Regions from separate parts of the Homo sapiens genome. Here region 2 is linked to region 1. Evidence: promoter capture Hi-C in 16 types of primary human blood cells and fetal thymus (Javierre and others, 2016). All regions are on one chromosome and are shown on one strand. The core of a region is centred on a gene start or on the middle of the fragment in contact, and the rest is flanking DNA. Distances in the headings are between cores, read along the strand shown. Region 1 holds the start of PEX10 (peroxisomal biogenesis factor 10). Region 2 overlaps PRDM16 (PR/SET domain 16).

The links. The method cuts DNA at HindIII sites, captures the fragments that hold promoters and counts their contacts. A CHiCAGO score of 5 or more calls a contact.
Region 2: a contact is called between a fragment that was not itself captured here and the fragment with the promoter of PEX10 in region 1, in 1 of 17 cell types (endothelial precursors). The highest score is 6.9, in endothelial precursors.

Annotation. Positions count from the first base shown.
Region 1 is chr1:2,410,888-2,413,872 of GRCh38, forward strand. PEX10 (peroxisomal biogenesis factor 10) reads right to left here and starts at 1,677. Exons shown (of 6, transcript NM_002617.4): 1 at 1,504-1,677. The coding sequence starts at 1,615. RefSeq lists enhancers at 324-904, 905-1,485, 1,486-2,066, 2,067-2,646 and silencers at 1,263-1,642, 1,803-2,402. The HindIII fragment of the contact is 16,041 bases long and covers 1-2,985 here.
Region 2 is chr1:3,407,490-3,410,189 of GRCh38, forward strand. All of the region lies in intron 8 of PRDM16 (PR/SET domain 16), which reads left to right. Among named protein-coding and RNA genes, the nearest start is that of ARHGEF16, 46 kb to the right of the region's middle. RefSeq lists an enhancer at 972-1,549. The HindIII fragment of the contact is 1,658 bases long and covers 423-2,080 here.

The DNA of each region.
Region 1 (2,985 bases), core at 427-2,926:
AAGATTCAATATTTGTAAAACACTGGGAACAGTGTCTGGCACAGGGGTAAGTGCCAAGTGTACTGTAAAACAAGTAAGTACACACACAAAAAATTCTCATCATGTCACTCTCCTGTTCAGAATCCACCAATGGCTGCCCACCTGACACCCATGGGCCTCCCGGCACGGAGCCTGGCTGTCCTCTGATATTTACCCATGCTCTTCCTGTCCCATGGCACTGTTCCTTTGGCCACGACACCCCCACCACTGGGCTCTAGTGCCACTGCTCCCTGAAACGTTCTGCTGGGAGTTCATGCCTTTAACGACTGCCTGCCCCACCCCCCAAAGACTTGATGGCTTTGCCTTTTTTTTTTTTTTTTTTTTTTTGAGATGGAGTCTCACTCTGTTGCCCAGACTGGAGTGCAGTGGCACGATCTTGGCTTACTGCAACCTCCGCCTCCCGGGTTCAAGTGATTCTGTCTCAGCCTCCCAAGTAGCTGGGATTACACGCACGCGCCACCACGCCCTGCTGATTTTTGTATTTTTAGTAGAGACGGGGTTTCACCATGTTGTGTAGACTGGTCTCGAACTCCTGACCTCAAGTGATCCACCCGCCTCGGCCTCCCAAAGTGCTGGGATTACAGGCGTGAGCCACCACACCCGGCATCTTTTTTTTTTCGTTTTTTAATCGGTGATGGGGTCTGGCCCCGTCGCCCAGGCTGGAGTGCAGCGGCACAATCATGGCTCACTGCAGCCTCATCCCTCGGGCTCAGGCGATTCTCTTGCCTCAGCCTCCTGAAGAGCTGGGATTACAGACGCCGCCACCACGTCCGGCTAATTTTCAGATTTTTTGTAGAGACGGGGTCTTGCCATGTTGCCCAGGCTGGTTTCAAACTCCTGGGCTCAAGCGATCCTCCCGCCTCTGCCTCCCAAACTGCTGGGATGACAGGTGCTGCTTCATTGAGTACACTGGCTTCTGTACTCAGCTCCCGGCCTGGTGAGGCAGGCAGGGCCTGGCTGAGCCTACACTGGGGTCAGCAGGGCGAGGGGCCTGGGCTGCTGCTCAGGCCTAGGAAAGGCCGGGGTCAGTGTGAACCGGACCGAGGTATGAGGCGTTCGCGCCGCGGGCGCTCTGACCCCTCTGCTCACAGGGGAGGATCGGAGGGAGGCTTGAAGCACTTGCCAAGGCCTCACACCTGGAGGGGACAGAGTCTTCCCCAGCCGCTGGCGTCAGCTGGACCTGCCCTGAGCTGGGGACGGGAAGGGCTTGGGCGGGAACTGGAGGCCCACGCAGGTCCCCCGCGGTGTCTGCGGCCTGTGCCTCTGGGGCCACCTGGCCAGGGAGGGCAGGAGGTGCCCCGCACATCCCTGAATGGCCGCAGGGCAGGCGAAGGAGACTGCCGGGTCCCAGGTTGTGGGACGGGCCCAGGCGACCGTGACCACACACGGCAGACACCCCGCCTCCATGAGGGGCAACACCCCCTGGGCCGCTCGCGAGGACGTCCGGCCGCGCCCGGCCCTCACCCGCCAGGCTGTGCAGGGCGCCGCCCGCCGCGCTCCGCAGCCCACCGCGGTAGTACTCGTCCTTCTGCGCCGCGCGGATCACCTCCGGGGGGCTGGCGGCGGCCGGGGCCATGGCCGCGGGTTCGGGTGGTCCCGAGCAGCCACGCCGGCCACGCCCACGCCCAGACGGGCGAGAACTGATGACGGCACGACGTGGCTCTGCGTGCGGCGCAGACCTCTGCGTCAAGGTGCTGGGGCGGGGCCGGACTGGGGCTGGAGGCGGGGCCAGGGCCCGGGCGGAAGCGGGGCTGGAGTCCGAACCAGCGCAGCGCGGGGCGGGGCAGCGGGAAGGTAGTCGGAGGCGCAGGGCGGAGCGGAGCGGGGCGGGGCCCGCGAGCCGAGGTGGGGGCGGGGCACGCGCGAGGGGCGCTGGCGAGGCAGCGGGATGGGCTCGCGGCCGCGTGGTTGCTGCGACCTCGGGGTCCTACGCTGCCAGGGGCCCCTGCTCTGCTCCCTGCACGTCCACGGGCCGCCCTCCCACTGGGGACAGCGCTGCGGAGTGGAGACGCTGCAGGCCCATTTACGGCTGGGGAGACGGAGGCTTTCGCTTGGGTCTTCGGGAAGCCGAGCTCCCAGCGCCGGCCGCGGCGGTCCCGCCCTCGCGCCCTTTGAGCTGCGCGGGCTCTCAGCGCGGGTTGGCCAGTTCCGGGGAGCCGGTCGGTTTGGGGGCCAGAGGGGCACGAGGCGAGACCCGGGACCTTCCAGGCCCCGAGCAGCCGCCTTCCCCAGTAATCCTGCGCGAAAAGCACACGGCCGGCTTGGTGTGGACGCCCCCCTGGTGCCCACGGGAGGCAGGGCCTGGCGGGTGGGGGGCAGCCGGGAAGCCGCCGCGTGGTTCCAGGACGGGCGGAAGGTGGCCTTCCACCCTCCACCCTCCACCCTGCCTGGCCTGAGCCCCGCAGGTGCTCTGGGGAACCACATCGCAGGCGCTCCGATCCCTCTGCTCCCAGGGGACGAGCGGAGGGAGGCCTGAAGCACTTGCCAAGGCCGCACACCTGGAGGGGACAGAACCTTCCCCAGCCGCTGGCCACAGCTGGACCTGCCCTGAGCTGGGGGTGGGAAGGGCTGGGGCGGGAACTGGAGGCCCACGCAGGTCGCCTGCGGTGTCTGCGGCCTGTGCCTCTGGGGCCGCCTGGCCAGGGAGGGCAGGAGATGCCTGGTACATACCTGAATGGCTGCAGGGCAGGTGAAGGAGAAGGCCCTGTTTTTTGGCCCCAAGGGCAGCACTTGGCCCTGGAGAGTCCTGCAGGATTGCAGGAGGAAGGCAGGGCACGACAAGGGGGCGTCTGCGCCCCGCTGACCTCAGTGGGGAGGGCCTCCAGTTCCTTGCCTCACCTCTGGTTCCATCTACAGGAGCTCAGCTGTGGGATCATCCCCAGACTGGCACAGCCCAGTCACAAAGCCAGAGCCCCACACTGCAGGAATGGCCCCTCTTACAGGGAA
Region 2 (2,700 bases), core at 2-2,501, 1.0 Mb after region 1:
GCACGGTGCGAGCTGGGCAGGAGTCAGGGGCTGGGGCGGGGGGTGACTGCTCCCAGCTGCAGGTCAAGTGACTCCAGTGAGAGCGGCACCAGTTGGTGCCTCAGATGACAACGTGGAGTTCTATAGCAAGCTCAGGAGCAAGAAAATTGGACCTAGGTTTAAACTTCCTTGCCTCTCTGGGCCTGCAGACGAGCGTTCTAAAGTCCCGTTGCATCGCTTTAATGATGTGCATTCCAAGAGCTGCAGCACCCTGGGCAGCTGGAGCCCACTGTTCCCACCACACTGCAGGCTGCTCCCCATCCCTCGTGGATGGAGTGAGGACAGGGAAACTCAACTGGCCCTGCCCCGCCTCGGCGACTCTTGCGCTTCTTGTCCACACACTCGGCTCACCTTTGTGCCTTGGCTTTTTGCTAAGGGGATAAAGCTTAAAGGAAAACCCCAGATGTGGGCAGATCGGGTTTATGAAGATTCTCATTCCCTTAGAAATTAGATCAGACACAAGCAACGCAGCCCTGGTATCCCCCAGGCCACTGCACAGTGTCCTTTGGTGCAACTGCAGAAGGGGGTCTTCAGGCTTGGAGAGGAGAATTTGCAAACAAGTGAGGGAGTCCAAATGGCGTGGCCCTTTCCAGGAATGGTCAGTTGCTTGCAGGAGAGGTCACAGCTGCGCAGGCGCTCATGGCCAGACTCCGTGTCCACCTGCTGGGTGACACACCCATGGCACAGGCAGATGGAAGCCCTAAGCCCCCACCTCACTGGCCACACAGACGGAGGGGGTGTCATTCCTGGTGGTGTCTTTCCCACCAAGGCGCTCACCTGTGCCCTGGGCTGTGTACAAACGTGTGTGTGCATGGGTGTAAGAGAAGGGGTGGGTAGAGCGAGAGGAGAGGAGAACAGGACAGAGAGGAAGTATAATATCTGGGAATGAGGTGCACAGGCTCCCACTGGGCACTTTGCAGAAAGAGCCTTTGCTTTAATAAGTATGCACGTGTGAGAGTGTGTGAGTGTGGGCGCGTGCACCGGTGCGTGTGTGTGTGAGAGCGTGTGTGTGGACACATGAGCTGGTGCATGTGTCGGTGCGTGTGAGAGCGTGTGAGTGTGGGTGTGTGAGCTGGTGTGTGTGTGAGTGCATGAGTGTGGGTGCGTGAGCTGGTGCCTGTGTTGGCATGTGTGAGAGTGTGTGAGTGTGAGCACGTGAGCCGGTGCATGTGTTGGCGTGCATGAGAGTGTGTGAGTGTGGGCGCGTGAGCCGGTGCATGTGTTGGCACACGTGAGAGTGCATGAGTGTGGGCGCGTGAGCCGGTGCGTGTGTGTGAGCGCGTGTGGGCGCGTGAGCTGGTGCGTGTGTTGGAGGATGTGAGAGCACGAGGGTGGGCACGTGAGCTGGTGCGTGTGTGTGTGAGAGCGCATGAGGGTGGGCGTGTGAGCCAGTGCTTGTGTTGGCACGCATGAGAGTGAGGGGCGTGTGAGCCAGTGCATGTGTTGGCACGTGTGAGAGCATGTGAGGGTTGGCGTGTGAGCCGGGGCATGTCAGTGTGTGTGAGTGTGGGCGTGTGGGCCGGTGCGTGTGTCGGCGCACGTGACAGCGTGAGTGTGGGCGCGTGTCTGTGAGTGCGAGTGTGGGCGTGTGAGTTGATGCATGTGAGTGTGTGAGTGTGGGTGTGTGTGAGTGAGTGTGGGCACGTGAGTTGGTGCGTGTGTGTGTGAGAGTGTGGGCGCGTGAGTTGGTGCGTGTGGGTGTGAGAGTGTGTGAGTGGGGCACAGCCAGGGTGTGCTTGTTTGGCCGGCAGGGCTGAGTGCCTCCCCGAGGGCCAGGTAGGTGACCGAGGGGTATTTACAGACCCTCCCTCTGGAGGGTCACCTGTCCATCAGCAGCCCTCCAGAGAGGGCAGATTTGATGAAACGAGACAAAGTTCTTCTCCCCTCAGCCTTGAAAACGCCCCGCCAGGCTGGACGAGCAGGAAGGTAGAGCGGTTAATATAAATAGATATCGTGATGAAAGAACACGATCATCTTAGGGGAAAAGCTCCCAGCTGGAGTCGAAGGAGATCAGGCAGCCGACGATTTCTGGTGAGCAAGAAGCTTGCTGAAATCATTGTTTCCACCACGCCGTGTTTAGGAAGCAAATTGTCCTACAGAGAGAGACACTCGCCGGGATGTGTGTGTGTGGTGTGCGTGTCTGTGGTGTGTGTGTGCGTGTGTGTGGTGTATGTGCATGTGTGTGGTTTGTGTGGTGTGTGTAGTGTGGGTGTGTGTGTGGTGTGGGTGTGAGTGTGTGTGGTTGTGTGTGGGTGTGTGGTGTGGGTGTGTGTGGTGTATGTGTGCATGTGTGTGGTTGTGTGTGGGTGTGTGGTGTGGGTGTGTGTGTGGTGTTTGTGTGCATGTGTGTGGTTGTGTGCATGTGTGTGGTGTGGTTGTGGGTGTGGTGTGTGTGTATGTGCATGTGTGTGGTGTGGGTGTGTGTGCGTGTGGGGGGTGTGGTTGTGTGTTTGCATGGGGGGGTGTGGGGGGTGTGCATGTGTGTGTGCTGTGTGTGCATGTGTGTGATTGTGTGTGTACGAATGTGGTGTGTGGTTGTGTATGTGCATGTGTATGAATGTGTGTGGTTGTGTGTGTGCGTGTGTGTGGTGTGTGTGCATGTGTATGAATGTGGTGTGTGGTTGTGTGTGCTGTGTGTGTGCATGTGTAGATGTGTGTGTG